Linked DNA regions of Homo sapiens: region 1 is linked to region 2. The links are contacts of gene promoters, found by promoter capture Hi-C in human tissues and cell types (Jung and others, 2019). All regions are on one chromosome and are shown on one strand. The core of a region is centred on a gene start or on the middle of the fragment in contact, and the rest is flanking DNA. Distances in the headings are between cores, read along the strand shown.

Evidence for each region. Contacts are between HindIII fragments. The study calls those that stand out against the background at their distance.
Region 1: the fragment with the promoter of TRIM28 here is called in contact with a fragment that was not itself captured in region 2 in 1 of the 25 tissues and cell types used here (liver).

Annotation. Positions count from the first base shown.
Region 1 is chr19:58,542,349-58,546,821 of GRCh38, reverse strand. TRIM28 (tripartite motif containing 28) reads right to left here and starts at 2,758. Exons shown (of 17, transcript NM_005762.3): 1 at 1,725-2,758; 2 at 1,285-1,397; 3 at 926-1,058. The coding sequence starts at 2,064. It also overlaps the pseudogene RN7SL525P. RefSeq lists silencers at 1,738-2,027, 2,048-2,207, 2,288-2,497 and enhancers at 2,618-2,927, 3,079-3,583. The HindIII fragment of the contact is 31,195 bases long and covers 1-4,473 here.
Region 2 is chr19:58,269,120-58,273,533 of GRCh38, reverse strand. The region is part of intron 1 of ZNF8-DT (ZNF8 divergent transcript); the gene reads left to right. It also overlaps a transcript of ZNF544 not described here. Among named protein-coding and RNA genes, the nearest start is that of ZNF8-DT, 7.4 kb to the left of the region's middle. The HindIII fragment of the contact is 7,344 bases long and covers 1-4,414 here.

The DNA of each region.
Region 1 (4,473 bases), core at 1,509-4,008, 270 kb before region 2:
TAGAGCAGAATCTTGGTGCTCAGCATAATCCCACCCAAAGACCAACCCATTAATAACCTCCAAAGCCTGTCTCCCCATTAGAAAACTGATCAAACACACTGGTCCCACATACCAACCAAATCCAAAATATGTAGCATCAGGGCTCATTGGGGAAACTGACTTCCCCAATGCCACTCATTCCTGCACCCTGACCTTTGCCTGGGACGTCTGGAATGTAGGACACCCTGCAGCCCCTGCGTATCCCTCCTGGCTGCTCAGGCCCCACAGCCACCACCTTCCCGCTATCTTCCACCAATGCTGTCCTCTGGGATGGGAAGAATCACAGTATGGCTACCAAAAGGCCACTCATGGGAGGATTCTGGCCCCAAAACTTGGCTAGACTCAAAAGACTCTCAAGCTCCTTCCAAACCAAAGCTAGCTGTGTCTGTGAAAAGCTGGAAATGCCAAACCAAACTTTGGGTAAGTCTCTGCCAACTCAAAAGCTAAAACACTTCCAAAAATCATCATCACTTATAATCCATGGACCCACAGTCTACTTTCCCTAGCAGCATCTTATACCAGATGTGTGCCAGGGAACCACAAACCCAGAAAGCCCTTCACACCATGCCTTTCCCTGTTTGCATATGCTGAGCCCTTCACCACCAGGTCTGACAACTCCCTGATAAGCCTTCTCAAACCCTTTGTACCTCCCTGCAGCACATTAAGGTCTCCCTTATTTCCCCTTCCCACCCTCTCCCACCTAGGCCCTAGAGACTACACACCACAACCCCAGTTTTTCTGCTTCTGGAGTTCTGCCCTCGGGCCCTTCGGGCGGCACCCCCTAGAGAACTCTAGGACCCATCCACCAGATGCAACCAACATCATAAAAGCAACTGAGGGCACACATGGGAGAACAACTCCAACAGCCCCCCTCAGCCTCATGTACCAGTAGAGCGCACAGTATGGTCCTTGGTGTACTTCACCCGCTGGTGCGCCTCTACACAGGTCTCACACAGAGGCTCCGAGCACTCCACACAGTAGCTGGTGGCTGGGGCATTATCCTCACAGCTAGTGCAGCACTGCCAGACAAAGGCAGGGTCAGAGAAGGCAAGACAACTTGATAGATCCACGTTTACATCCCAGAAAATACAACCGGAGATTTAAGATTGGTCCCTTGACCCAACCTAGGCAGCCCACCCAGAGCCTTGGGAAAGTGGAGTAACAGCCTGGAGCTGGTGCCAAGCTCCTCCTGCGCAGATGCCCCCTCCCCAGAAACCTCCTTGTGGTTGCTGAGATAGGACGCACCTGGTTCGCATCCTGGGCGTCGGTGGCAGCCTTGCTGCCACTATCACGCATGAAATAATTCTCCACGATGTCTTTGGAGAAGCACTGTTGCTTGCACACGGGACAGTCCACCACTTCGAGAAGCAGGGATGTGGGAGACTGTTACAAGTTCCCACCCAGGTTATGGCCCCCACCATTCCCCTGCTGGGTGGGCCCCCGACCATTATCCCGCAGCGAACCAGCCCCTCCCCTCCCCGAGCCTTCTTTTCTCCAACTTTAGTCAGATGTCCCATCTCAGCGGCCAGCACAAACCCACGTTCGTATGCAGGACCCAGAAAGTATTTCCCGTGCCCTGTCCGGGCCCCCATCCTCTCGCCCAGGTGGCATCCTCATCTCTGCACCCAGTCGGAATCAAAGGCAGAGAGTAGGGGGAGGGGTGGCACCGATCACTTCGTACTTACCGGTGCCGTCGCCCGCCGCCCCGCCGTCCCCCGAGCTGTTGGCGGCGGCGGGGGCCGCGGGCCCTAAGCAGGCACTACAGGCCGAGTGCAAACAGGGCAGCAGGCGGGGCTCCCTCTCGGGTCGCAGGCGCTCTCTGCACACGCCGCAGTGCTCCAGCAGCTCCAGCGCCTCGGCGCCGCCCCCCGCGGGCGACGACGCCGCGGCTGAGGCAGAGGCCGAGGCTGCGGCCGAAGGGGCGGTGGAGCGCTTTTCGCCGCCAGCGGAGCCCTCGCCCGGGCCCGGGCTGCCAGAGGCGGCCGAGGCCGCTGCTGCCGAGGCTGCCGCCGCGGAGGCCGCCATTCACACGCCGCCGGGGGCGCCCAGGGGGGGAGGAGGGGCGCGGGGCCCGCCGCGCAGGCGCAGACGCGCTCGCCGCCAACTGCTGGGCCGCTGCCGCCGCCGCCGCCGCGAGGCCGAGCGCCGCCACGCGCCTCCTGGGCCGCTGCCCGCCGCGCGCGGGACGCTGCTACGGCACGGCCAACTGCTGCCTGCTCGCCTCCCGAAGGCGCCGCCCGCGCTTCTTCCTCAGCCGCCGCCGAAACCCGCACCACGCGCCACAAGCACAAGCACAACCGCTCGCCCGCGCGCCCGCTCGCAGAAAGAGCCGAGGCCGGGGGGCGGGACAGAAATAACTGGCGCCGACGCCGCCGCGCACGCGCATTGGGCGCCTCACGCCCGGGGGCGGGGCCCAGGCCGGTCGGTGCGGGAGAGGCCGCCAGTACGCACGCGCCAACTCCTAGTCCTTCCACCACCGCCAACCCCACGTCGGTGGGGCTCTTGTGGGGGCGGGGCGGGGCCTCTGTGACGTCACTGCCGCAATTGAATCCGCCAGTGGGGTATGCGAACCTTTATAGAGTGTGATTCCCCTCTCAGCTCCACCTCCAGACCACACAGAAGCGGGCCGCTGTGCGCCCAAGCGCATGGGCAATCCGTCCCTCTTCCTCAACCCGCGTCTCTTCGCCGCCGTAGAGTCGTCTCCAGCCTCTGCGTCACTAAGAGTTCGGGATAGGGGGCAGGGCCGATGGAGAAGTAGGCGGGGCCAAGACCGAGTGAAGGGCTGTGTCCAGGGAGAGGGGAGGAGAGTCTCCATCCCAAGAGGGAGGAAGCTCCTGTGTGAGCTCGGGTGCTGACTTTTGGATTTTAACCACGCTATAGTTAAACTTGAGAAACACAGAAACTTGACTGAATCAAATGTAGATCACAGCCGGGCGCCGTGGCTCATACCTGTAATCCCACCACTTTCTTAGGCGAGTCGGGAAGCTCCGTTTAGCCCAGGAGGCCGAGGCAGCAGTGAGGCGGGATTGTGCCACTGCACGCCAGCCTAGACCACAGATGGAGAAAAATGTGGCCGGGCGCGGCGGCTCACGCCTGTAATTCCAGCACTTTGGGAGGTCGAGGCGGTTGGATCTTAAGTCAGGAGTTCGAGAGCAGCCTGGCCAACGTGGTGAAACCCCGTCTCTACTAAAAGTACAAAAAGTAGCCGGGCGTGGTGGCAGGCGCCTGTAATCCCAGCTACTCGGGAGGCTGAGGCAGGAGAATCGCTTGAACCCGGGAGGCGGAGGTTGCAGTGAGCCGAGATCGTGCCATTGCACTACAGCCTGGGAGAAAAGAGTGAAACTCCATCTCAAAAGAGGAGAGAAAGGTTTTTGTGTTTGTTTTGAGACGGAGTTTTGCTCTGTTGCCCAGGCTGGAGTGCAGTGGCACGATCTCGGCTCGCTGCAACCTCCGCCTCCCGGGTTCAAGCGATTCTTCTGCCTCAGCCTCCCGAGTAGCTGGGATTACAGGGGCCTGCCATCACGCCTGGCTAATTTTTGTATTTTTAATAGAGACGGGGTTTCACCACGTTGGCCAGGCTGGTCTCGAACTCCCGACGTCAGATGATAGACCCACTTTGGCCTCCCAAAGTGCTGGAATTACAGGTGTGAGCCACCACGCCGGGCCCCCCAACCCCCCATCAAGAAAAAAAATATATATATATATATACACATATATATAAATCACAAGAGGCTAAAGAGCAATGAGTCTGTGAAATCCCACCCAGCCCCCCAAGGCATCCCCTCCCCATGTTTTCGTCAGCAGCTACCCTGACTTTGATGCTTTTCCAGATGGGGAAACTGAACCTCAACAGTGGGGAATCCCAAGGAGGGAAGGAAGCAGGTCCATGTGGGGAGAATCCTGTCTGAGGTGGAAAGTAGGGTTTGTGTGGGGAAAATCCTGTCTGAGGGAAAGAGGGTGTGTGTGCGGAGGGGAACCCTGTCTGAGGAGGGAAGCAGGGTCTGTGTGGGGAGAATCCTGTCTGAGGAGGGAAGCAGCGTCTGTGTGGGGAGAATCCTGTCTGAGGAGGGAAGCAGGGTGTGTGTGGGGAGAATCCTGTCTGAGGAGGGAAGCAGGGTGTGTGTGGGGAGAATCCTGTCTGAGGAGGGAAGCAGGTTCTGTGTGGGGAGAATCCTGCCTGAGGAGGGAAGCAGGGTCTGAGTGGGGAGAATCCTGTCTGAGGGAAGCAGGGTCTGTGTGGGGAGAATCCTGTCTGAGGAGGAAAGTAGGGTGTGTGTGGGGAAAATCCTGTCTGAGGGAAAGAGGGTCTGTGTGGGGAGGGGAGCCCTGTCTGAGGAGGGAAGCAGGGTCTGTGTGGGGAGAATCCTGTCTGAGGAGGGAAGCAGGGTGTGTGTGGGGAGAATCCTGTCTGAGGAGGGAAGCAGGGTGTATGTG
Region 2 (4,414 bases), core at 1,641-4,140:
TATTTTTAGTAGAGACAGGGTTTCGGCCTGTTGGCCAGGCGGGTCTCTATCTCCTGACCTGGTGATCCGCCCACCTTGGCCTCCCAAAGTGCTGGGATTACAGGCGTGAGCCATCGTTCCCGGCCTAGGCTTTAGGCAAGCTTTGGTATTTTGTATTCATGTTGATCATTTGATACAGAGTACTTATTTTTACTTAAACAGATGTAGTATTTTTATTTCCTCTTTGACCAAATAGCTGTTTCATATATATTCTAAAATACCCACAATTATTAATTTGTAATTTTGTTGTGCTATTAAAGTATATGATAATATGATTTTCTACTTTTTTGGTTTCTTTCTTCTTTTTTTTTTTGAGACAGAGTTTCGCTCTTGTTGCCCAGGCTGGAGTACAATGGTGCGATCTTGGCTTACTGCAACCTCCGCCTCCTGGGTTCAAGCGATTCTCCTGCCTCAGCCTCCCAAGTAGCTGGGATTACAGGCATGCGCCACCACACCCGGCTAATTTTTGTAATTTTAGTAGAGATGGGTTTCACCATGTTAGCCAGGATGGTCTCGATTTCCTGAACTTGCAATCTGCCCAACTCGGCCTCCCAAAGTGCTGGGATTACAGGCATGAGCCACCGCGCCCGGCCTTTTTTTCTTTTCTTTTCTTTTTTTTTTTGAGAAGGAGACTCGCTCTGTAGCCCAGGCTGGAGTGCAGTGGCACGATCTCAGCTCACTGCAACCTCCGCCTCCCAGGTCCCGGTTCAAGCAATTCTCCTGCCTCAGCCTCCTGAGTAGCTGGATTTACAGGCACGCACCACCACGTCTTTTAGTAGAGACGGGGTTTCACCATGTTGGCCAGGCTGGTCTTGAACTCCTGACCTCATGATTCTCCCGCCTCAACTTCTTCTTGATAAGAATTCTGGAAAATCAAATCTTCAAGGACTAACCCACTCCCTTTAAATCCAAGGGATTATTTTTATTTTTATTTTTAAAGAAACAGGGTCTCACTCTGTTGCCCAGGCTGGAATGCAGTGGTGCAATCTCAGCTCACTGCAGCCTCAACTTCTCAGGCTCAAGTGATCTCACACCTCAGCCTCCTGAGTAGCTGGAACAACAGGCGCGTGCCACCACACCTGGTTTTTTATTTCTTGCAGAGACAGAGTCCTGCCATGTTGCCCAGTCTAATCTCAAACTCACGGCCTCAGTTGATCCTTCCACCTGGGCCTTGGTCTGTTAGGATTACAGGTGTAAGCCACCACACCCATCCAACTCCAGGGGATTCTAGGAAGCCAAGGAACCTTCCTGCCCTGCCTGCTGAAATAAACTCAAACTGGCCAAACAGACAAGTCTGACATCTTTTCTTTATGCTTTTTTTTTTTTTTTTTCCTGTCAAGGAGTCTCACTCTGTTGCCCAGGCTAGAGTGTAGTGGGGCAATCTCGGCTCATTGCAATCTCCAACTCCCGGGTTCCAGCGATTCTCCTGCTCAGCCTCCCAAGTAGCTGGCATTACAGGCACCCACCACCACGCCCAGATAATTTTTGCATTTTTAGTGGGGACAGGGTTTCACCATGTCGGCCAGGCTGGTCTTCAACTCCTGACCTCAAGTGATCCGCCCGCCTCGGCCTCCCAAAGTGCTGGGATTACAGGCATGAGCCACTGCGCCCAGCCTGCTCTTGCTTGATTTTTTAAATTGTCAGATCACTAATACAGAGACACCGAATCAAAAGGAGAGTAGGACAGTTGTTCATAATCCCACAAATCAAATGCTTACCTCCTCATGTACCATTGCTTCTCTCACCTATAGGCACACATTTGAAATAATTTGTTAGTTATCCAAATAAGAAGTGAACCACCAGGGAATTAAATGCTATGGGCTTAAAAGGGAAAGTACTCATCTCCTGCCCCAGTCACTCATCCTCTCAGCCTCCCGACATCACTTTTTTTTTGAGATAGGGTCTCACACTGTCACATAGGCTGGAGTGCAGTGATATAATAACAGCTAACTGCAGCCTCAACCTCCTGGGGTCAAAGAATCCTCCCAACTCAGCTTCCTGAGTAGCTGGGACTTCAGGTATGTGCTACTATGCCCGGCTAATTTTTGTATTTTTTGTAGAGACCAGGTCTCGCCATGTTGCCCAGGCTGGTCTCCAACTCTTAGGCTCAAGTGATCCACCTGCCTCAGCCTCCCAAAGCACTGGGATTACAGGTGTGCACCACCATATCCACTGCACCCACCTCCAGCCACTTTTAACCATATCTGTTCCAATTCTTCTTGAGGACACCTCCGTAATTCTAATCTTTGATCATCTTTAGTCTTTTTTTTTTTTTTTTTCCTGGAGACGGAGTCTGACTCTGTTGCCCAGGCTGGAGCACAGTGATGCAATCTCAGCTCACTGCAACCTCCACTTCCTGGGTTCAAACGATTCTCCTGCCTCAGCCTCCTGAGTAGCTGGGATTACAGGTGCCCACCACCACGCTGGGCTAATCTTTGTATTTTTAGTAGAGACAGAGTTTCACCATGTTGGCCAGGCTGGTCTCAAACTCCTGACCTCAGGTGATCCACCCACCTCAGCCTCCCAAAGTGCTGGGATTACAGGCATAAGCCACCGCATCCAGCCAATCATCTTTAGTTTTCACTAACTTCCTGCTCTGACAGGTGAGGATCTGACTCACATCCGCTGCCAATTCCTCTCATATTACATTTCAAGCTTTAATTTTCATCTTCTAAATAAACTTACATATCATGTTTAAAAGCCTACTTCCTAAAAGGATGGTAAGGGAAACCTCTACTCTCCACTACTACTTTCCCCATCTACTCTCCCACATCTGCAGGTGGGGCTGACATTGTCAGTGACAGGAATAATGACAACAGTGCCCTACCCTACGGCCACTATGAAGTTGTCAGGTCACAGCCATGTGTTACTTCCTAAAAATTAAAAGCCAATACAGGCCGGGTGCAATGGCTCATCCCTGTAATCCCAGCACTTTGGGATGCCAAGGTGGGCGGATCACAAGGTGAGGAGTTGGAGACCATCCTGACCAACATGGTGAAACCCTGTGTCTACTAAAAATACAAAAATTAGCTGGGCGTGGTGGCACGTGCCTGTAATCCCAGCTACTCAGGAGGCTGAGGCAGGAGAATTGCTTGAACCCGGGAGGCGGAGGTTACAGTGAGCCAAGATCGCGCCACTGCACTCCAGACTGGGCAACAGAGACTCCTTCTCAAAAAAAAAGAAAAAAAAAGCCAATACCTAGGGTTCACGTCACAGCTATGCAAATGCCATTCCCTGAAGGGTCAATCAACAATCTGACTGCATCTCCTCCTCCTTTATTCAAATTTCATGAGCTTTTTGCCCCCTCCAGCAAGAATTACTCACATCAGTGTCAAGTGAACACTACTTTCTAAAGTTACCTTCACATAGGAACTATAACCATCTAGCAGAATTTGTATAGTTTGAGCACAATTTACCTTGAAGCCTTCAATTAAAATTACCTTTTTTTTTAAGTTATGGGTGAATAAACATTCCTTTTCTTGCCCTATTCCTTTTCTAGATTAAAGCTATTCCTTTCTTAGATTCAAAACTATTTTCTCTAGAGAAGGTTCTGCCATGCCATTTGCTCTGTTTTGAGACAGAGTCTCATTCTGTCGCCCAGGCTGGAGTCCAGTGGCATGATCTAGACTCATTGCAACCTCTGCCTCCCAGGTTCAAGTGATACTCCTGCGTCAGCCTCCTGAGTAGCTGGGATTGCAGGCATTTATCACCACACTTGGCTAATTTTTGTATCTTTAGTAGAGACAGGGTTTCACCATCTTGGCCAGGCTGGTCTCAAACTCCTAACCTAGAGTGATCCACCTGCCTCGGTCTCCCAAAGTGCTGGGATTACAGGCGTGAGCCACCATGCCAGCCCTGCCATCTTTTTTTTTTTTTTTTTTTTTGAGACAGAGTCTCGCTTTGTCGCCCACGCTGGAGTGCAGTGGCACAATCTTAGCTCACTGCAACCTCCACCTCCTGGGTTCAAGCAATTCTCCTACCTCAGCCTCCCAAGTAGCTGGGATTACAGGTGTGAGCCACCATGCCCGACCCTGACATTTTTTTTGTTTGTTTTTTTTTGAGACAGAGTCTCGCTTTGTCGCCCAAGGCTGGAGTGCAGTGGCACAATCTTAGCTCACTGCAACCTCTACCTCTCGAGTTCAAGCGATTCTCCTGCCTCAGCCTCCTGAATAGCTGGGATTATAGGCGGCTGCCACCATGCCTGGCTAATTTTTGAATTTTTATTAGAGATGAGGTTTCACAATGTCGGCCAGGCTGGTCTCAAACTCTTGACTTCAGGTGATCTGCCTGCCTCAGCCTCCCAAAGAGCTGGGATTACAGGCGTGAGCCACCACGCCCAGCCTGCCATCTGTTTTTAGTCGTGGTGTTCTCAGTT